Linked DNA regions of Homo sapiens: all the other regions are linked to region 7. Evidence: promoter capture Hi-C in 16 types of primary human blood cells and fetal thymus (Javierre and others, 2016). All regions are on one chromosome and are shown on one strand. Each heading gives the region's core, a stretch centred on a gene start or on the middle of the fragment in contact. The rest is flanking DNA. Distances are from core to core; before and after follow the strand shown.

Region 1 (3,064 bases), core at 385-2,884, 390 kb after region 7:
GCTTTGTCTTGTCAGCAGCTGCTTTTTTTAATTTTAATTTTCCATTCCAGGCTGGGCTGTAGTTGCTCCCATAAAGGGATCACAGTTTTTGTTCCATGCAGAAGGAGTCCAGAACACTTCTAGGCATAACCTTGGAGCTCATGACAGGTTGCTCAGCTAGGCCAGAGAAGAGAGGGATCTGCTCATTTCCAGCCTTGCAGGCCTATCAACTTGTATTATGTTCAGTTTCTCTAAGGGCACACATTCCCCTTCACATTGCCTCAACTTATCCTGTTAGGAGACAAGACTAATGGAACAGATTCTCCTATGTCATCACTTTCTCTCTCCCAACTCACAACAACAAACACAATACACACACACACACACACACACACACACACACACACACAGGCATAGATCTTTTCAGCTCTGCTCCCAGTCTGCCTTAGGTAAACACTATACTGTGTACAAAGAGGCATTTACAAAGACATTCACTGCAATACTATAATAATCAAGGGAAACAACATAAATGTCCATCACCAGAGCACTAATTAAATACATTATGGTATATCCATACAATAATTCAGCCTTTTGAAAACACAAGCTATCAGCCAGGCATGGTGGCTCATGCCTGTAATCCCTGAACTTTGGGAGGCCAAGGCGGGTGAATCACCTGAGGTCAGGAGTTCGAGACCAGCCTGGACAATATGGTGACACCCTGTCTCTACTAAAAATACAAAAATTAGCCAGGCATGATGGCAGGCACCTGTAGTCCCAGCTACTTGGGAGGCTAAGGCAGGAGAACAACTTGAACCCGGGAAGCAGAGGTTATAGTGAGCCAAGGTCACGCCACTGCACTCCAGCCTGGGCGACAAGAACAAGACTCTGTCTCAAAAAACAAAACAAAACAAAATAAAACAAAAAAACCACAAGCTATCATGAAAAGAGGTTTCTGATCTATTAGACCTATTAGAAGATTCAGGGAGATGTCTATGTCTTCTTCTGAATCAGACTTCTGAATGCCAAGAGGCAGAGCTGGATCAAGTGGGAGAAAGCCACAGTGGGACACGAGGGAGAAGGTTTGTATAGTCACAGCTGTCCAAAACTGGAGAGAGTCATTCAAAAAGTACTGAGGTCCTCGTAATTGAAAGTTTGTTGACAAAGGTTACATGACCCCATACTCTGGGAGGTTGAAGAGAAAATTTCTATGCCCTAAGGGTCTATAAAATCAATATGTAAGAAGCCCTCAAATAAAAACAGAGCCATTTTCAAATCATTATGTCATTCACTACCAAGAACATCTTAGGTAATCAGAGTGTCAATCCATATATGACAGATAAGGTAACTGAGGCTCAAGGAAGTAAGGTCACTTGGCCATGATCTCATTATAAGTAGGGTCTTGAAACAAGCCTATCTGACTTTATTATTCATCCTATAATGAAACAAGCCTATCTGACTTTATTATTCATCCTATAATGAAACAAGCCTATCTGACTTTATTATCTGACTTTATTATTCATTCATTCAACTATCTGACTTTATTATTCATTCATTCAACAATTTTTTGTGTGTATGCTTACTACACAAAAGGCACTGTACTAGGCTCTGTGTATACAGACATGAAAAAAACAAAAGTTTCTACCCTTACAGGGCTCACAACCTAGTGAGGGAGACAGACAAAAAAAAAGGAATATAATATATTTTTTCACCACTCCCCACATCCTAAGTGTTGAGGTATGGGGATAAAAGACTTCATCTCAGCAGGGCCAATAAAAACTATTACCCTGGCATAAAAAGCTCCCACCTACAACGCTCTGAAAAAACAGTCATAGGTGACTGGACAAGGAACAGAAAGCAGGATGGGTCAGGGCTTTGAGCAGACCCTTCTCCTCTTACTAAGACCTCCATGAGAGCACAACCCAAAAACTCCTACTGGCCACTGGTGGTGTATATGCTTTATTCATACGTATATGCCTTTATGTATATATAGCAAGATAGCTGCACATTTTTTTTTCTTTAGTATATGTATGAGGGAAAGAGAGAGAGAGAAAGTGCCACCTTGAAAGCAGTAAATTTTGGAAACAGAACACCTGGTTTTAGTCTGTTTTTCCAATAACTAGTTCAGCAACTTTAGGTAAATCAGTTGATTAACCCAAGCCTCAGTTTCCTGTAAAAATTGGGGTAATAATAATAGCTACCTCCCAATATTTTTGGCCAGGAGGATATATAAGGTTGGCTATAAGAAGGGTCTTTGCAAGGCCAGGCGTGGTGGCTCGCCTGTAATCCCAGCACTTTGGGAGGCCGAGGAGGGCCGATCACGAGGTCAGGAGATCAAGACCATCCTGGCTAATGTGGTGAAACCCTGTCTCTACTAAAAAATACAAAAAAAAAATAAATAAAAAATTAGCTGAGTGTGGTGGTGGGCGCCTGTAGTCCCAGCTACTCAGGAGGCTGAGGCAGGAGAATGGTGTGAGCCCGGGAGGCGGAGCTTGCAGTGAGTGGAGATCGCGCCACTGCACTCCAGCCTGGGCGACAGAGGAAGACTCTGTCCCAAAAAAAAAAAAAAAAAAAAGAAGGGTCTCCATAAAATGATTGCATAGAGCCAGGTGCAGTGGCTCACGCATGTAATCCCAGCACACTGGGAGGCCGAGGCAGGCGGATCACCTGAGGTCAGGAGTTCAAGACCAGTCTGGTCAATGTGGTGAAACCCCGTTTCTACCAAAAAATACAAAAAAATAGCTGGGTGTAGTGGCAGGCGTCTGTAATCCCAGCTACTCGGGAGGCTGAGGCAAAAGAATCACTTGAACCCGGGAGGTGGAGGTTGCAGTCAGCCGAGGTCGCGCCACTACACTCCAGCCTGGGCAACAAGAGCAAAACTCCATCTCAAAAAATACATACTTCCACATAGAAAAAGTGTGGTCATAGCTATGTGTATGTGGTATATAAATGTAGGTTCTGGAGTCTTCCTGGGCCCCCAGATGTGCCTTTGTTTGGCCATGTGTATGTTATCCATACACATGGATAACATACACATGGAGCAAACAGGCTCCCATGCTTGCCTGTTTATGTGCCCATTTGCTTGTGT
Region 2 (3,326 bases), core at 550-3,049, 500 kb after region 7:
AGTGTACACCTGTGGTCCCAGCTACTCAGGAGGCTGAGGTGGGAGGATCACTTGACCCCAGGTGGTCGAGGCTGCAGTCAGCTGTTATCATGCCACTGCACTCCAGCCTGGGTGACAGAGGAAGACTCAGTCTCAAACAAAACCAAACAAACAACTTATATGTTGGACCTTAAACCCCAAGGTGATGGTATTAAAAGGTGGGAACTTTTGAGAAATGATTAAGTCATGAGGGCTCTGCCCTTGTGAATGAGATTAATGTCCTTATAAAATAGGCTTCAGATAGCTGCCTGGCACTTTTATCTCATCTGCCATGTGAGAACACTGTGTTCATCCCTTTTGCTCTTCTACCATGTGAGGATGAAGCAAGAAGGAGCCATCTCAGATGCAGACAGCAGTCCTCACCAGACACTGAATCTGCCAGTGCCTTGATCTTGAACTTCTTAGCCTCTAGAACTATGAAAAATAAATGTATGTTGTTTATAAATTATCTTGGCCTGCGGTATTTTGTTATAGAAGCAGAAATGAACTAGGGCGCCTTCACTGTTGTTCAGAGATGGAACCGATCACTCCCTCTTTTGCATTCCCTCTGGCTTCTCTTACAGTACTCATATTCAGCCCCGATTTCTACTTATTTAAGGAGCAAAGCCCAGAAATGCTAAACAAATTGCCAAAGAATTCATTGTTAGTAAGAGGCAAAGACCTAGGTTGGGGAGGTGCTTATCTCATTGAGGGCAGGGATTCCATCTGATTTCTTTGTTTTCTTAGTTCCCAACACAAAACCTGGCAAGTAGAAGTGGCTCAGTTTGAAAGGATGGAAAGAAGAGGGATAGAAGAGGAAAGAAAGAGGAAAAGCAAACTTGCTTCTGGGATTAGTTTGGTATTTGGCACTAGTTACCTTCCCTGAAAACTGTCAGACAGAAGGCAGAAGGCACTTTGCAAAGGATCATGAACCAGACCATGTAAGGCACCTCCATCCTAATCAAACTCAGCAAGTTGAAGAGAAGGAGGCAGTAAAGGAAAGTGGAGGATATTCCAAGAGAAGCAGAAAGGCTGAGAAGAGTTTGAGAAAAACAAAAAGACAGATATAATCCTGAGGTGCAAATATAGACTTATTCAGGAGGCCGGGAAAGAGGCCAGGATGTGGTAAGAGGGATGAAGATTAGAAAAAGGCCAAAGATTAGCCAGATTCACATCATGGCCAAAGTGCTCCATGACAAACTTGAGAAAAAGGGCACCAGTCCAGCCCTGGCTTGAGCTTATAGGGGAGTGCAGAACTCATCTAGGATATCAGTTGCTAAATGTGAGGGGAAGGAGAATCAGGAAAATTAAGGCTCAGAGCCTCCCAGCTCAGGCCTATGTAATCACCTCTGCCCTAACTGGTATACCACAGTAGTTGAAGCCAGGGGTCAACTAGCAAAGGCCCAAGGGACATATAACCCAAATAATGAAAGGCTTGAGGCAGGCTCAGAGGACATGGTCAACTCTCAATTATCCACATGCTAGTAAACAGTGGATTATTCACAAGGTTTTTTGTTGTTATTTGTTTTGAATTCAAACCTGATTTTAACCACTTCAACACACCACCTCTTCCTCCTCCTACCACCTTCCCCAGGCAGCCAGCATCCTCTGAGAGGCTGACTGTGACTCCTTCTGGGTCTTGAAGGCCTGTACCTATACCTCGCTGGAGTCAGGGTTCTCAGGGAGGAAGCTTTGGAGCACCTGATCCAAGACCTTCGCCGTCTGCCCATAGAGAACCTGGAAGGGAAAGAAGATTAAACAGTCCTGGAATGGCTGAGGCTCTAGGCTCTCAGTGGGAGTAACCATAGGTGTGGAATGCTGTTATTGAGTTCCTGTCAGATGCCATAAACACCTTTCCTTTTTTCAAGCTTTCCTCACAAATCACCCTAAAAGTTAGCATGTATTAACCACATTTTGCAGGTTGAGGAAACAGACTTAGAAGGGGACGTAATTTCAGCCAAAGTAATAGAGCATTTAAGTAGGAGGTAGATTCTGCACCCACGGTTCCCTGAGTTCTAACTTCATGTTCTTGCCAATATATCTGTTGCTTCTGAAAGACCTTTCAAATCACAGAGAATTATTTCTTTTCTTTAATCAACACATGTAGCAATGTATATTATTTCTTTCTGTCCCTTTACTTTTTTCTCTTTTTTCTTACCTTTCATTTTGTTCTTCTACTTTATTTTTCTTCTTGCCAGCCTTCCATTATTTTCTCTGTCTTCTTTCCTCCCTTACTTTCTATGTACATTTGCTTCCTAATATGGAGGATCCTGCTGTAAGAATTGTGGAAATCAATCAGCTCATAACCCCTGTTTTCCAGGAGTTCCCAGTAAAGCACCTACAGATACAAATTCACATGTCCACAGGATCACACGGGATATAAATAAATTCACCCCATTGCTTCTAGTACAGCATAATAAAAAGAGAACTTGGGTTGGAAATCTGGGTCTCAGTCTCTGCTTTGTCACTTACAGTATGACCTTGGGAAAATCACATTACTTTCTTGAGCCTCTGTTTTCTTATCTAGAAAATGGAAACAATAAAACTTGGTCTACAGGCTTCACAAAGGAGCTTCAAGGCTGGGCGTGGTGGCTCACCCCTATAATCCCAGCACTTTGGGAGGCCAAGGCAGGCGGATCACCTGAGGTCGGGAGTTCGAGACCAGCCTGGCCAGCATGGTGAAACCCTGTATCTACTAAAAAATACAAAAAAAAAAAAATATTAGCTGGGTGAGGTGGCAGGAGCCTGTAATCCCAGCTACTCAGGAGGCTGAGGCAGGAGCATCACTTGAACCTTGGAGGCAGAGGTTGCAGTGAGTCGAGATTGCACGATTGCACTCCACCCTAGGCAACAAGAGCAAAACTCCATGTCAAAAACAAACAGAAAAATTAGCCGGGTGTGGTGGCACATGCTTGTAATCCCAGCTACTAGGGAGGCTGAGGCAGGAGAGTTGCTTGAACTCAGGAGGCAGAGGTTGCAGTGAGCCAAGATTGTGCCACTGCACTCCAGCCTGGGTAACAGAGCGAGACTCTGTCTCAAAAAACAAACAAGCAGACAAAACACACACACCCATACACACACGAGAAAGATAAGAAGATATAAATAAGGAAGAAAGTGTTATGTAAAGCATCCAGTCTGTAGTAGAGAAGTAATAAATGATAGCTCCTTTTCCAATACCATGATGCTTCTTGTATCATTAATTGAGCTGGAGTTGGCCTGGCATGCTGGCTCATACCTATAAACCCAGCACTTCGGGAGGTCAAGGCAGGAGGATCGCTTGAGTCCAGGAGTTCATGGCTAGCCTGGGC
Region 3 (3,095 bases), core at 195-2,694, 410 kb after region 7:
GGGACAAAGGAGAGAGCAGGAAAGCCTGTGAGAGGCCTGGGGAAATACAGGTCACACTGGGGCAGTGAATTAAAGAATGGAAATCTGGGATCTGGGTTTATTGTCTTAATCAGAACTGAGATGTGATTAATTAAGTGTTTATGGCCATGTTTGTGCTTTGTTTGGTGGTAGGTTAGAGAAGAATTGTAAATATGCCTAATGCATAAAGAGCTTTTTATAACAGAAGCCCTTGAAAAGGGAGCATGCCAGCCTACCAAGGGTCCCATGAAGAAGTCACCTCCTTTCCAGTGGGCATCTGGGCAGAAATTTCTGAAGAAAAGGGGTGCAAAAAAAGTCTCCACCTCGGTCAGATATCACCCTTGGGGATTCTGTGGCTCTCCAATGTCTATGGGGGTAAAGTCTAAACTCTTTTTTTGTAACAAGTAGGTCCTTGCTTGATCCCTCACAATGTCCTCCCCAGCTACATCTCTGGCTTATTCCCACTACTACCTCCCTAACCTACAGCCATATTAAATCTGTGGCTACCATAATATGCCCTTTCTGTCCTCTCTGCCTGAAATGAATCCATGCCAGCCCTCCCTTTGCTTAGCTAAGCTAACTTATCCTTCAAGGCTTAGCTGAGGATTACTTCTCCTGAGAAATCCTCCCTAATGATCCTTCATCTTCAGTCTGGAGTCCCATATTTTTTGGATCATGACTCCTCCATTTAGCAATCTGGATTAACATTATTTGTTTCCACATCTTTGTCTTCCACGAGATAATAACTACTTTGATGGCAGGGACCATGTCATCTCCATCTATGTAGTAATAATTATAGCTAACATTTATCTAGCTGTGCCAGACACTTTATACACGTGAACCTTCACGAGTCCCACTGAGGTAGGTACTATATGCCCAAGTCATACAAAGAGACATCACTACACAGCTATCAGAATGGCTACAATTAAAAAAACAGCGACAACACCAACGATGTGAAGAAATTTAAGGAACTGAATCAGTGAAGGATGTGAAGAAACTGAATCACTCATACATTGTTGTTGGGAATGTAAAATGATACAGTCATTCTGAAAAATAGTTTGGTAGTTTCTTATAAAACTAGAAATGCAGCTACAGTGTGACCCAGTATGTCTTAGTCTATTTCATTCTACTACAACAGCATACCACAGATTGGATCATTTATAATGAACAGAAATTTATTGACTCATGTTTTCTGGAGGCTCGAAAGTCCAAAATCGAGAGGTTAGCATCCGGCAAGGGCCTTCTTGCTGCATCATCCCATGGCAGAAGAGCAAATAAAGGGTAAGGAAGAGACGGTAAAAGGGGGCCAAACTTCCCCTTTTATAATGAGCCCACTCCCACGATAACAGCATTAATCCATTCACTCCAGCCTCATGGCTTAACAATCTATTATTAGGCCCCACATTCCAACACTGTTGCATTAGGGGTTAAGTTTCCAACACATGATTTTTGGGGGACACATTCAAACCATCGCTCAGTAACTGCATATTTAGGCATTTATCCCAGAGTATTAAACATTTCTGTTCACAAGAAAACCTGTACAGGAATGCTCATAACTGTTTTATTAATAATAGCCCAGGCTGGGCATGGTGGGGTGGGGTGGGTCATGCCTGTAATCCCAACATTTTAGGATGCTGAGGCAAGAAGATTGCTTGAGCCCAGGAATCCGAAACGAGCCTGGGTCTTTAGTTTGATTCCATGTCTACAAAATATAAAAATGAAAAAATCAGCCAGGTGTAGTAGCACATGCTTGTCCCAGCTACTTGAGAGGCTGAGGTGAGAGGATCACTTGAGCCCAGAAGGTTGAGGCTGCAGTGCGCCATGATCATGCGACTGCACTCCAGCATGGGCAACAGAGTGAGACCCTGTCTCAAAATAAAGTAATAATAATAGCGCCAAACTAGAAACTGCCCAAATGTCCTTCAGTGGGTGAATGGATAAACAAGCTGCGGTGCATCAATAACATGGAATACTATTCAGCAGTAAAAAGGAATGAACTATTGATATAGGTGACAATTTGGATTAACTTTAAAAGAATCATACTGAGTGAAAAAAGTCAATCTCAAGGATTACACATTGTAAGAATCCATTCATATAACATTTTTGAAAGGACAAAATTAAATGCATGGAAAACAGAATAGTGGTTGTCAGCGGTTAAGAAGGATGTAGGGGGCTGGGCACGGTGGCTCACATCTGTAATCTCATCACTTTGGGAGGCCGAGGTGGGCAGATCATTTGAGGTCAGGAGTTCAAAACCAGCCTGGCCAACATGGTGAAATCCCATCTCTACTAAAAAAACAAAAATTATCCGGGCATGGTGGTGGGCGCCTGTAATCCCAGCTACTCGAAGCTGAGGCAGGAGAATTGTTTGAGCCCGGGAGGTGGAGGTTGCAGTGAGCAGACATGGCGCCATTGCATTCCAGCCTGGGCAACAGAGCGAGACTCTGTCTCAGACAAAAAAAAAAAAAAGAAGCAGGATATAGAGGTAGATGGGAGGTAGGTGTGACTATAATAGGACAACATGAGAGATCTCTGTGGTAGTGAAAATGTTCTGCATCTTGACTATATCGATGTCAATATCCTGGTTGTGATATTACACAATAGTTATGCAAGATTTTATGAGTGCAGGTAACTGAGGAAAAATGCAGGGGACTATAGTATTTATTTCAACTGTATGTAAATCTACTATTATCTCAAAATTAAAATTTCAAAAAATTTTTAAAAGGAAGTATTGACACATGATATGATATGAACCATGCAAAATTGTACCAAGTGAAAGAAATCAGTAACAAAAGACCACAAAATGTATGATTTCATTTATATGAAATATTCAGAAAAGGCAAATCCATAGAGATAGAAAGTAGACTAGTGGTTGCCTAGCGCTGGGGTAAGGAGGGTGAAAGGAATGGGAGTGACTGGTAAAAGGTGCAGGGTTTTTGAGGGTTTTTGTTTGTTTGCTTGTTTTGTTTTGTTTTTGAGGCAGGGTCTCATTCTGTCACCCAGGCTGGAATGCAGCGGCACGATCATAGTTCATTGCATCCTCCAGCCCCTGGGCTCAAAAGATCTTCCCACCTCAG
Region 4 (3,039 bases), core at 10-2,509, 430 kb after region 7:
TGTCTCTATTTTCCCCATCTGTCAAAGGAAACCCAGTTATGAGGTCTACTCTATCACCACAAGGAATGGAGAGTACATCGGGGTTATATCAGGCTTGGTGTAGGCTGGGAGTTTTCTCCATAGCTTCATTTTCTCAAGATCTCCCTCTGGGTCAGAGGCCCTGCAGGGGTTCCTTTGTATCATTTTAGAGCCAGAACTGACTTGTCAAAAGCAGTATGTTATAGTGTGATGAGTAAGCTGGCAAGCTTTGTGGTCAAACTACATGCACTTGACTGCTTACTACTTAACCTAAGGCAAGTTGCTAAACTTCTCTCGCCTCAATTTCTCTCTCTTAGAAATGGGGCTAGTGATATCTCTCTCACAGGGTTATTTCACGGATTAAATGAAAAGATGTATAAAATACCTGGTCCATTGAAAATACTCATTAGATGTTTGTTGAATAAATGAATAAACTAAGTAATACAGTTCTACTCAGGCTTAATATCACAGATCCAATAAATATCAAATATAATTCCTGCCACTCAGTGTGTGACCCACTGGAATATAAGCTCCATGAAGGCAAGTCATTTATGTCTGTTTTGTACCTCAAGCTCCTAGAACAGTAACTTGCAAATAGTGACTGTTTGATAAATAGTTTTGCATGAATGAATAAGCAAATGAATTAATACTATATTGCAGCTACTGTGTTAGGCATATGGGACAGAATTCTACGATGGACAGTCCCTGTTCTCATGGAGGTTACAATCTAGTAATTAAATTGATGATCAGCCTGGGCTCAGTGGCTCATACCTGTAATCCTAGCACTTTGAGAAGCCAAGGCAGGAGAACTGCTTGAGTTCAGGAGTTTGAAACTAGCCTGGCCAACATGGCAAAACCTCGTCTACTAAAAATACAAAAATTAGCTGGGCATGGTGGCACATGCCTGTAGTCCCAGCTACCCAGGAAGCTGAGGCAGGAGAATAGCTTGAACCTGGAAGGTGGAGATTGCAGTGAGCCGAGATTGTACCACTGTACTCCGGTCTGGGGAACAGAGCAAGACTCTGTCTCAAAACATAAAAACAGGCCGGGTGTGGTGGCTCACACCTGTAATCCCAGTACTTTGGGAGGCTGAAGCGGGTGGATCACGAGGTCAGGAGATCAAGACCTGCCTGGCCAAGATGGTGAAACCCCATCTCTACTAAAAATCCAAAAATTAGCCGGGCATGGTGGTGGGCGCCTGTAATCCCAGCTACTCGGGAGGCTGAGGCAGAGAATTGCTTGAACCCAGGAGGCGGAGGTTGCAGTGAGCCAAGATCATGCCACTGCACTCCAGCCTGGTGACAGAGCGAGACTCTGTCTCAAAAAAAAAAAAACATAAAAACAAACAAAAAACAAAAAAAATCCTCGGTATGGTGGTGCATACTTGTAGACCCAGTCACTCAGGAAGCTGAGGTAGAAGGATCGCTTGAGCCTGGGAGGTCAAGGCTGCAGTGAGCTGTGATCATGCCACTGCACTCCAGCATGGGGGACACAGCAAGACCCTGTCTCAAAAATTGATTGATTAATCAATTAATGAAATTAACGATTGAACCTAGGCTTAACGCTGTGAAGGAGAATGACGGGATGCTGTGAGAGTGACACACAGAAGGAATTTCTTAGTCTGGGATATGGAAAAGAGTCTCTCAGAGCCAGTGAATATCTGAGCTGATGCCTGAGGAAGGAGTGAATCAGGTGATTAGTAAGGAGAGGAGGTGGTGATGGGTTTGAGCTGTTCAAATACCAGAAAAATGATCAGAGTGGCTGAATCACGGTGAGAAAAGGAGTGAGTAGTAGGAGAAGGAGTTGGAAACATTTGCAGGGACTAGATCATGTAGGCTCTTTTGGGCTATAGCAAAAAATTTGGCTTGTGGTCCTCATGTGATGGAAAGACACTGGAGAGTTTCATGCAGGGGATTAGCATGATCTATGTTTTACAAAGATTCTTCTGGATTTATTGTAAAGAATGGGTTGTAGGGGGCAAGGGTAGAAGCCAGGAGACCTGTAAGGAGGCTAGGGCAAGTCATCCAGTTGACAGATGATAGGGACTTGGACTGGATTGGTGGGAAGTAAATGAAGAGAGAGGTGGATGTGTTAGGGATATATTCTGAGTGTAGCAGGACTTGCCGATAGGCTGAATGGTTAGGGGTAATAAGAAAGAGGAGGCAAAGCTAACGCTTAGATTTCTGGCTTGCTACCTGGGTGGATGATGGTGCCATGTTTCTTTGGCAGGAAAGATTGTGTAGGAACAAGCTTTGGAGTGGCAATGTTCTGTTTTGGCTGTCTTTGATTTACCAGTGGTAAATGGAGAATTTACCAAATGGTAATTTACCAAACGGAAAGGTCAAACCAAATGGAGATGTCAAATTATCAAATGGTAATTTATCACATGGAGATGTCAAACATTAATCTGGAGCCCAGGACAGAGGCTGAGGCATCTTTAATAGGATTGTAAGTCCTGAGTGTGCTGGAGAAGCCATGGGCTAGGTGCGAACAGAGGAATGACATAAACCGACTTTTGTTTTTAACATGATCACTCTGAATGCTGGGTTGAGCATTGACTGTAGGGAGGTAAGTATGGAAGCAGGGAGACCAGGAAGGAGGCCACTTCAGTCATATAGGTGAAGTGTGATGATGGCTTAGACAAGGGTAGTGGTGGTGGAGGTGGGCAGAAGAGGTTAGGTTCAGGATAAATTTTGAAAAGAGCCAATGGACTTTGATAATAGATTGAATATGACAGGTGAAGGAGATGGAAGAGTTAGAGGTGATCCCCAGGTTCTGGGTTTGTCCAATTATGTTGATGGTGGAGCCATTCACTGAGGTAGAGACCACTAGAGAAGAGCAGATTTGGGGGAAAGATGTTTAGTTCAATCCCTTTCTCTGCCCTTCTTGTTCCCTATGCTTATTTCTGATCTGCTGCCACCTTCAGAAGGAGCCTATTCATTCTACCTGAAATCCACTATCAGAGAATCCCTCCTTTATGTTGATGCATAGTGTTTCCTAACCTCTATTAACACCGCACAC
Region 5 (3,198 bases), core at 312-2,811, 360 kb after region 7:
CCAGGTGCAGTGGCTCATACCTGTAATCCCAGCACTTTGGGAGGCTGAGGTGGGTGGATCACTTTAGGCCAGGAGTTCAAGACCAGCCTGGCCAACATGGTAAAACCCTTTCTCTACTAAAAAAATACAAAAATTAGCCAGGTTTGGTGGCACATCCCTGTAATCCCAGCTGCTAGGGAGGCTGAGGCACAAGAATCGCTTGAACCCAGGAGGTGGAGGTTGCAGTGAGCCAAGATTGGACCACTGCACTCCAGCCTGGGCAACAGAGTGAGACTCTGTCTCAAAAAAACAAAACAAAACAAAACAAATTCAACCTGAAAAAGCTGGATGAAAAAAAGAAAAAGGACGGGTATAGCTTACTTGGACTTGGGAAACCTTGGGCCCACAAAGCTACCACATAGCATACATGTGGGAATAAATGGGAGCTGAGTTGGGAGAGGAAGCTAGAATGGGGTGAGGTACCAAAGGGACCTCCCTATATGCTATGCTAAGAGGTTTCAATTTTCTCTTTTCACATTCATGGGAATGTATCTATACTAGCAAATGCTGGGAGTAATCTAAATGCTCCCCCAAAGGAGAATGGTTTTAAATTATGGCATAGCCTTTGAATAGAATTTTACATGGCCATTAGAATGTTCATTTCTTAAAATTAAATAGCATTTATCTAAGTTTTTAGTGATGTGTTAAGTAGGGGGAAAGAAGGAGAACTTTTTTATGTACACTATGATTGCACCACCAAAAACTAAGGTACATATATGAGATACGACAAGAAATACAAATAATTATTGCCATGTTAAAATGATGAATTTATACACAATTTCTCTCTCTATTTGCTAAACTTTGTCATATGCCATGCTGAGTTTTAAAAAAAGGGGAAATATAAAAAAAGAACCACTCTTCTTCCATTTGACTCTACATTCCTTCTTCCTCCACCTGCTTGCCTACCTTCCCAAACCAACAGCCATTTTGATCCACCACCTACAACTGGCATCGCTAACAACCCATGTGAGGTACCTAGGAAGAATGAGAAGCTTCCAGCAAGGCAGCTGCTTCCAGCAGCAAGCTCCTGCATAGCCCACAGGCCATTCCAGCTCAATGCTGGAGAAGAATCTTCCCCCTAACAGCACTGCCCAGCACTACCCAACTAAGGCTTCTCTGGTTAAACTGCCCAAGGATGCCCAAGGAACTTGTTTCTAAAGGAAGGAAAACAGATGCCAAGACTTCTTGTGCTTTCTCCAGGGGGCTCAGAGCAGGTAAGGTTTATGTTCATGGCCAACTCTTAGGTGGCTGAGATCCAATGTGGGATCCTTGTTTCACAAGCAAGCACTGGATAAAGTGTCAGTGAGAAGGACGAAAAGGAGGAAGAAGTAGAGGATGGGTAAAAACAGATCCAGTGAAGGGTACACCTTTCCCATAAACTTGCTTATTCCCTATCAGCCTTGTAGGCCCTCACAGAAAATTCAGAAGTCCCTCTCCTTTGATCTCCAGGACTAATACCAAAGGAAACCATATTTACAAAATACAGGATCAGTTGAAAGCCCAACACTAGGTGTGTGGCAATCTTCCTGACTAGAAATTCTCCCTTTTGCTCCACCCAAGCCCATATCACCTAGCTCTCCCCGTCCAAGGGCAACATAGTCAACAATGATTCAGATAGAGGAAGGGGAAAGGGAGCTTAGCAATTTAAGACTCAGTCAAAAGCAATTTCATAGCCCTACAAAAAGGGATGTTGTGGGGGAGGGAGTAAAGGAAGTGAAATCTCATATGTCCTCAGTTTTAGCTTGTTTCTTTGTCTTCCCTTTCCCTGATGGAACAATGACCAATCCAAGGGTCTTCTATTCTTCCTGAGTCACAGATGACCAAAAATAGCCAGCAACTGTAGTCTGCAGGCTGGACTCCAAGACCCCACCCAAGGCATGTAGTCAACAGTTGTCTCTCCAAGCCAGAATCTCCACAGTGAGCTCTCTGGTAGGTAGATTCAGTATATCCCAGAGCAGAGCTCACTGAAATAGAGGGGGCTGCTTACATGTTGATAGCCAGAGGAGAAAATGACACACTCAATGCCATTCTAAATGGGAAAAGGAAGCTTCTCCGAAAAGTCACCACTCTGCTCTGCTACACGCTTTCCAAGACCCCTTTCCTAGCCTCTTAAAGACTGGGCACAAATAATCAGAATGTCAGAAAAAGCCAATGTCTCTATTTTGTAGATAAGAAAATTAAGCCTCATAAAAGTGACTTGCCCAAGGTCACACAGGCAGAGATTAAAAACCAAATATCTCACTCTTCTTTCCATTGTACCATTTTTTACTAAAAGGTATTTTTAAAGACACCCAGACAAGTGCCCCAAGCTGTAAGTGTCAAAAGCTCAGCTCTTCTAACCTAAAGTTAGACAGCTCAGGACTGGGAAGGGGAGGTAGAGGGAACTTAGACTCAGCCCACCCAGGAAAGCCAAGTGAGAAGGCTAGGCATACAACAGGCATACTTAAAGAACTAGACTTACCAACTGGAAGGCTTTACCTGCTCCAAAGAAATAGTTTCAAATGCTGAAAGCCCTAGCCCCATCCCACCCCCACACTCTGAACCTCTTTAGGCCAATCGAGACCACTCCTAGGCTGTCAGAGATCTAGGTAAGAAGCTGTAGAGGAGTGACCAGGCAGTGCCAAGAGGATAAAGGGAGATAAGAAAGCAGGGTGGAGAAATCACAGTCATTCCAGAGCTCTCCCATCTTCCTCTCTCCTTCCCCACTCCTCCCCCATATTAGGACTCTAAACAAGAAGAAAAGAAGTTTGCAGGTGGTATTGTATAAACTTGAAGAAGGCATTCCCTGTACTAAAGGAGAACAGAGGACTAGTTGAGGTGGGGTGGCAAGGAGAGGGAGTAACTTGAGGGGGGAGAAAATAGCCAAATAAGGCAGACTTGACTGGTAGGAATCATCAGGAAAGGTTCCAGAAGTTGACGTTGCAGGGAGGAAGCCTTTAGTCATCGGTTTCCTCTGGCAACTGGCCTAAGACCAGAAGGAAAAAAACTCCCAACCTTAGGAAAATGCCCAGGCTATGGCAGACAGAAAGGCAACTAGGCTAGATTTTCACCAGGCCCACATCAGGCCCTGCTGGAGCAACTCTTCAAGCACTCAAAGTAGAAAGATGTAGTGTAACCCTAAAGCAAATGGCAGATGTCCCCACCAAGCATATGCTAGAT
Region 6 (2,869 bases), core at 186-2,685, 370 kb before region 7:
CTACCATGATCCAAACATCTCCCAACCAGCCCCATCTCCAACGTTGGGGGTTACAATTCAACATGAGATTTAGAAGGGACAACACCTACATTGGGTATCACCTACATTGTTAATTTTTAAAAATTGTAGTAAATGTGCTTATACATTGGATACAAAATTAGACATTTTAACCAATTATAAGTGTACAATTCAGTGGCATTAATTACATTTATAAGATTTTGCCACTGTCACCACTATCAATTTCCAAGACTCTTTTACTACAAACAGGACTTCTGTACTAATTAAGCACTAAGTCCCCATTCCCCATTCTCTATAATTTTGCTAACCTCTAATCTACTTTCTGCCTCTATACATTTGCTTATTTTATGTGGTTCATACAAGTGGAATTATATAATATTTGTCCTTTTTTGTCTAGCTTATTTCACTTAGAACAGTGTCTTCAAGTTTTAGTCATGCTTTAGAAAATATCAGAACATTACTCATTTAATGGTTGAATAATATTCCATTGTATGTATATATCACATTTTGTTTATTCATTCATTTGTTGACAGACATTTGTGTTGTTTTAACCTTTTAAATAATACAAATAATAGTTCAATAAACATTGACATATAAGTATCTGTTCACATCTCTGCTTTCAATTTCTTTGGGTATACACCTAGGAGTAGATTGCTTTAATTTATAAATGGTAGTGATTTCCCCTAATTCATTTCTTACTTTGCTTATTGAGTCTTCTCTTTTTTTCATAGTCAATCTAGATAAAATTTGATCAATGTTGTTGATAGTTGCAAGGAACCAACACTTCATTTTTCCTATTTTCCTATTTTCTATTTTACTTATCTCTGCTCCACTCTTTATTATTTTATTCCTTCTACCAGTTTTGAATTGTTTGTTCTTTTTTATTTTATCAAAGTGTAATGTTAAGTTGTTGATTTGAGGTCTTTATTCTTTTAAATGTAAGCATTTATAGCTATACATTTCTAACCTAGGACTGTCTTCACATTATACCTAAGTTTTGGTATGTTGTGTTTTCATTTTCATGTGTTTCAAGATATGTCCTAATTTCTTTTGTGATTTCTTCCTTGACTGAATGGTTGTTTAGAAGTATGTTGCAGAAACCACGGAAAGGGCAAGATGGCCTACTAGACACAGCCAGGTGTAACAGCTCCTACCAAGGAACTGAGATGACTGGAGGTGCTCCTAATAGATCTCCAGAGAGAAGGCAACAGGAGTCGATGTAAGGAAGACACAGAAGCTCGGCTGAATTGGAAGAAAGCTGGAAACACTAGGCAGGGCTGCAGTACACCCAGACTTATTCCTGGTCAACAATGGCTCCATGGGAATAGGTGAGTTGAACAGCAAAGAGCAACCCACTTTCAACATACTCCCTGGGACCCCAGCAGCAGGAGACCCCTTGACCAACACAGACACTCCAGTTGGCAGGAAGAGCTTCTTAGATAAGTGATAGGAGCAGCAAACCAGCTAATGTGGAACCCAGAGGGTTTGATGAAGGAGCATCTGTACAGAGAATGGCCAGAGACAGCCATCGTCCTAGGCTCAACTTGCTCCTGTAGGAGATGTTAGCCTTAGGGGAACTATCAGTTCTGAACTCTGCAGAGTGGTCTTGCCAATCAGAAGGAGCAGGTCAGACCTCAGCACCCTTTGGTCTGCTGGCCTGTCCTGGGGTCTCATCTGGCCACACCTGCTTGCAGGGCAACCTTCGGTTCCCTAGGGGCACAGACTATACATTCTGCACTTGTGGACCATGGCTGACTGGCAGAGAACTTCAGCAGGAAAGACCCTAGGGCCATGCAAGCCCACATGCTCCCTCCCCATACTGTACCTTCCCCTGGGATGGAAAATTCCCACATTGCTTTGCTGGCACATGTCTGTGCAGGTGGTTTTTGCTTTCCTTTCCCTGCCAGCATGCAGAGGTACAGCCTGAATCACCTCACCCCAACTGGCATTGCAGACAAACCATTGGTGGGAAAAATCCAGCCAGCCCCATCACTTCCATCATTCCATCCTTACACTAACAATGCACAGAGAACAAAAGATGATCTCCTGCCCTGAACAACTAACTATTCCTGCTTGTAGGCCATAGGGAAGGCACCCATACCTGCACCCATCAGTGCCCACCCCCCAAGCCACCACCACCTCCAGCACGACCACACACACTAGCTAGCAGTGTACCCCCTCATCCTAGCTGTGCTGTCTCCATCACTGTTGTGAAAGGCCACAGGTAGCTAGGCACACCAGCATCTCCTAGCACTGTGCTGCATCTGCCGATACTGCTGCTGATGCTGCCATGTGCAAATGAGAATGGATTTCACTGTCACCGCACAATGAAATGCTTTGGCTGGCACCACCCATCGAAGTGCAGGGACTAGCTGTCCGGGAGCACTTTGTCCCACCAGCACAGTGAATTTCTAACCTCAAAGAGCCACAGAACAAAGTCAGGGCCCAATACAAGTCCCCCAGAGTTAGAGCATGCAGTCTGGAGTTGGGAGCTAAGTTTTGGACCCCAAAAATCTTCCAGAAATAAAACCATTCAGCTTAATCCACCTTATACCATAATCAAACCCTCAAGTTTATCAAATAAGATAAAACAAAAAAATCCAAACATCACCAACTTCAAAGATTGAAGAAAGGTAAGCCCACAAAAATGAATAAAGAAAAAATCAGTGCAAGAATCCTGACAACTAAAAAACCATAGTGCATTCTTTTCTCCAAATGATCTTCTGAAATGAGCTGAGATGGCTGAAATTACAGAAAAGGAATTCAGAATATGGATAAAAATAAAGATCATTCAGCTATAGAAGTACAATGAAACACAATCCAAGAAAGAGAAAAATTATGATAAAACAAT
Region 7 (3,286 bases), core at 699-3,198:
CAATAATACCCACCTGAGGGGTTGTAAGAACCAAGGGAAATAACCCATGCAAGGTGCTTAATTCAGTGACTGGAAGAGTAAAAGATTTTAAATAGCAACTATCATTATATAGTTGTTATTGTATGTATAGTATAGTTTGATTTTTATAAATCTGAAAAGATACAAGCATCAAGTATAATTATGTTCATGTTACAATTAGGGAAGCTGAGGTTCAGAGAGATTTGACTTGTTCAAGATCTCAGAATGAAGTAGACACAGAGCCAGGCTTATCTCCAGGTTTCTGACTTCTCATCCAATTCTTTTACTAATCAAGAGGGCTACTGAGCCTACTGCAAGACTGGAAGTCTTTCCCAGCCTTGAAGTAATGTTGTGCATACTCCCCAGGACATTTATTTATCTTCAGATCCAGGAGGTCCTAATAAAATGCAAGAGGTAGCACAAAACACACAATCACCTGGCCAGGCAGAAATTTACATCTGTCCAGTGGGCTTTTTAGCGGGGAAGGGGAGGGGTGTGTGTGTGTGTATGTGTGTGCGTGTGTGTGTGTGTGTGTGTGTGTGTGTCTGTGCGGTGGTGGTGGTGTAGTGGTGATAGGGTGTTGGTTGAAAAATATCAAAGGAGGGTTCTGTGAAGTTCAGGGTTTCCTGAGTGAGGACCCGGTGGGAAAAAATGGCTGAAATTTCCAGTGAGATGGAATGAGTGCAGTACTCAAAAAACAAGGAACAACCAGCCAAGGGGGATTGGGCCCTAGAGGCAGAGGTGATTGATAGAATTCCATGTAATAATGTGTCCTGAAATGCTGGAATGTCTCCTTAGCCCGTGCACAGCTCCAAATCATCTGCATGCAGCCACCCCTTGGCAAGTATGTTTCTTTATATTCCCACTCCCCATCTCTGCACAAACTCCTCCCTCCCCTGACCAAGTCCTTTCCTATCCCTCCAATCAAAGAGTAAACTAAGCTTAGCTGTTACTTACAGTGCAGTATGAATTTTTGGGATGTATTTGTGCTTTTGAAAGTGCTTATTGTTTCAAAGCTTAGTAGACAAAGCGCAGTGCCAAACCTAGTTAGACTGCTGATGAAATTACAGTCACTCTGGGGCCTGTGAAGAGGAGCAATTTCTGGAGCAGTTGAGCTTTGCTAGGAGGCATAATATTACTCTCTTGTAGGTCAAGGGCCTGTACCAATTGGAAGTCAATGAAAAATTCAACCTAATACAGCATACCACTAATGGGCTGCTGCACTGGAGGCTAGGCTTAAATTTCCCTTAAAAGAAGTAAAAAATAAATTCCTTATGAAAAAGCATGGAGAACATTAATGAAAATGAATTCTCCCTTACCATCAGAGAGGTGGAGCCATTGTAGAAAGTGATTCAAAGAGCTTCCCCAATATGAGATATGAGGCATATTCACCCATAACAGCCTTATCCATTGGCTTGTCAATTATTCAAGCTTTGATGTGTAGAAAGCCCTTTAATACACTAAACTCTTGTACTCTTAAGCCCAAAAGCACCCCGGGCCCAACACCCTGTCCAGTTGCATAGGCTGCACAGGCAAGGGTTAACAGTACAACTAATGAAAATTGGGTAGGTCAGCAAAGTTGATCTCTTCTCCCTGGGCTCACCACAAAGGAAAACACCGCCATACTGGAGTGGGAAGACTCATCCCAAAGGTCGCCCCCACAACCTCTGAATCTTGTGGAGGAGACTCAAAATAAATACAGCCTAGGAGATCAAAGACCAGAAAGCCCCATTGGCTCCAAGGAAAGTCAAGTCAATACCCTAGCAGGGGGAAGAATTGCTTCACTCATCCTGGAACCTCCAACCCCAAGGAGGTGGGGGAAGGGGGGCACCCCACATGACCTGTACTGAAATAGGGAAGGAAGGGGAATGTGTGATGGGACTAGGAGTTTGAGTGAGAGATATAGGGAAGGAAGGGAAGTAAGCAGTCACAGACGCTGGCGGCCACCAGAAGTTTGAGCCTCTTTGGTAGCAGGAGGCTGGAAGAAAGGACAGAAGTAGCTCTGGCTGTGATGGGGATCTTACTGGGCCTGCTACTCCTGGGGCACCTAACAGTGGACACTTATGGTAAGGCAGAAAGGGGGGCCTGGCTGCCATTGCTGGCTTAGGCAAAAGGCTAGAGGGTTGGTGTTTAATGTCTACTATGGAAAGCCTATTCCTACTGGGCAGGTGAGTCTTCTCAGCCAAACTCTGCAGGCTCTCTCAGCCTTGAGCAAAACGGATGGATGTAGTTGAAGGCTGCTGAAGAAGCCAGAAGGCAAGTTTGGGCAGAAATTGAAAAAGGATTTTTCTCTTGGAAAACATCTGCATTATTTTCTAGGGCTTGTATCTCAGGGGCATCAAGAAGGTTCCCAATGACATCCGAATCTTTCCTCCATCTGCTGTCTCTCATCTAAAATTCTACAATTGGACTTAACCACTCTGCTTCCAAGCTTTGGTCTCTGTTAAAATATACAGCCCCCGAAGAAGGAGTGTTTTCTAAGAGTTGGATAGGACTATAGAAGTAACCTATACCACCCTTCATTGTCATGAATAAGTGCTCAGAAACATCCAGTAGTGATTGAGATTTCACTGTTCACTACCTCCCCAGACCATCTAGTCCATCCAGGAGCAGCTCCAACTGTTAGAAAGTTCTTATTTGTGTTGAACTAAATCCAGTTCCCTCTGACTTCCATCCAAAAACCCCAGCTTTGCTTCTTGGGGCTACACAGAACATAGATGCTTCCTTGCCCTGTGATAGCCCTTCAAAGCCCTGAGGACAAGTACTATGTCTCCTTGACTCTTCTCTCCTCCAAGCTGAACAGCCCCAGCTTTTTCAACTGGTCTTCATAGGACTTGGTTTCTTACCCATTCCTGGGATAACTCACTTCCCTATAGACATGGCTCAATTTGTCTGGGCTATTTATGGGCTGGATACAAATCCCAAAGGAGGATGGACTATTCCATAGTGGCATTATTTCCTTGGAGCTTGGGAAGCTCTATCCTCATCTACACTCCTGAGAAGTGAGATGGATTTTCAGGAAACTCAACCTGGGTAACAGCTAAGTGAGATCCAATATAGGGTAAAGGGGGATTTTGCTGCTTCCCTATCATCCCTAGAGAAAAAGGCTGGATAGGTGTTAGCTTGGTGTCACTTGTTAGGTCAGAAAGAATCCAGCTTTCCGTAGCTGACTCTGATTAGGTTACCCTATCCTGGGGCTCTGTGACCCATCACACTCTGGAACCTCAGAGTTAGAAAAGACTCTGAATTAAGTCAACCAAGAGAAAAA

What was found. Contacts are between HindIII fragments. The CHiCAGO score rates a contact against its expected background, and 5 or more counts as called.
Region 1: a contact is called between a fragment that was not itself captured here and the fragment with the promoter of VSIG4 in region 7, in 8 of 17 cell types (non-activated CD4 T cells, activated CD4 T cells, neutrophils and 5 more). The highest score is 8.4, in non-activated CD4 T cells.
Region 2: a contact is called between a fragment that was not itself captured here and the fragment with the promoter of VSIG4 in region 7, in 11 of 17 cell types (activated CD4 T cells, fetal thymus, monocytes and 8 more). The highest score is 9.4, in activated CD4 T cells.
Region 3: a fragment that was not itself captured here is called in contact with the fragment with the promoter of VSIG4 in region 7 in 10 of 17 cell types (neutrophils, naive B cells, monocytes and 7 more); the score reaches 10.3 in neutrophils.
Region 4: a fragment that was not itself captured here is called in contact with the fragment with the promoter of VSIG4 in region 7 in 14 of 17 cell types (M0 macrophages, monocytes, neutrophils and 11 more); the score reaches 22.0 in M0 macrophages.
Region 5: a contact is called between a fragment that was not itself captured here and the fragment with the promoter of VSIG4 in region 7, in 14 of 17 cell types (M0 macrophages, neutrophils, monocytes and 11 more). The highest score is 16.4, in M0 macrophages.
Region 6: a fragment that was not itself captured here is called in contact with the fragment with the promoter of VSIG4 in region 7 in 4 of 17 cell types (naive CD8 T cells, total CD4 T cells, total CD8 T cells and 1 more); the score reaches 6.1 in naive CD8 T cells.

The regions. Positions count from the first base shown.
Region 1 is chrX:65,653,591-65,656,654 of GRCh38, reverse strand. It overlaps a transcript of MSN not described here. Among named protein-coding and RNA genes, the nearest start is that of MSN, 13 kb to the left of the region's middle. The HindIII fragment of the contact is 5,100 bases long and covers 1-3,064 here.
Region 2 is chrX:65,543,522-65,546,847 of GRCh38, reverse strand. No RefSeq gene overlaps it. Among named protein-coding and RNA genes, the nearest start is that of LAS1L, 10 kb to the right of the region's middle. The HindIII fragment of the contact is 178 bases long and covers 1,711-1,888 here.
Region 3 is chrX:65,630,488-65,633,582 of GRCh38, reverse strand. It overlaps a transcript of MSN not described here. Among named protein-coding and RNA genes, the nearest start is that of MSN, 36 kb to the left of the region's middle. The HindIII fragment of the contact is 6,924 bases long and covers 1-3,095 here.
Region 4 is chrX:65,604,449-65,607,487 of GRCh38, reverse strand. It overlaps a transcript of MSN not described here. Among named protein-coding and RNA genes, the nearest start is that of MSN, 62 kb to the left of the region's middle. The HindIII fragment of the contact is 2,023 bases long and covers 248-2,270 here.
Region 5 is chrX:65,677,851-65,681,048 of GRCh38, reverse strand. The region is part of intron 1 of MSN (moesin); the gene reads right to left. Among named protein-coding and RNA genes, the nearest start is that of MSN, 12 kb to the right of the region's middle. The HindIII fragment of the contact is 1,055 bases long and covers 1,034-2,088 here.
Region 6 is chrX:66,403,899-66,406,767 of GRCh38, reverse strand. No RefSeq gene overlaps it. Among named protein-coding and RNA genes, the nearest start is that of EDA2R, 230 kb to the left of the region's middle. The HindIII fragment of the contact is 4,229 bases long and covers 1-2,869 here.
Region 7 is chrX:66,038,742-66,042,027 of GRCh38, reverse strand. It overlaps VSIG4 (V-set and immunoglobulin domain containing 4), which reads left to right and starts at 1,948. Exons shown (of 8, transcript NM_007268.3): 1 at 1,948-2,084. The coding sequence starts at 2,030. The HindIII fragment of the contact is 1,000 bases long and covers 1,452-2,451 here.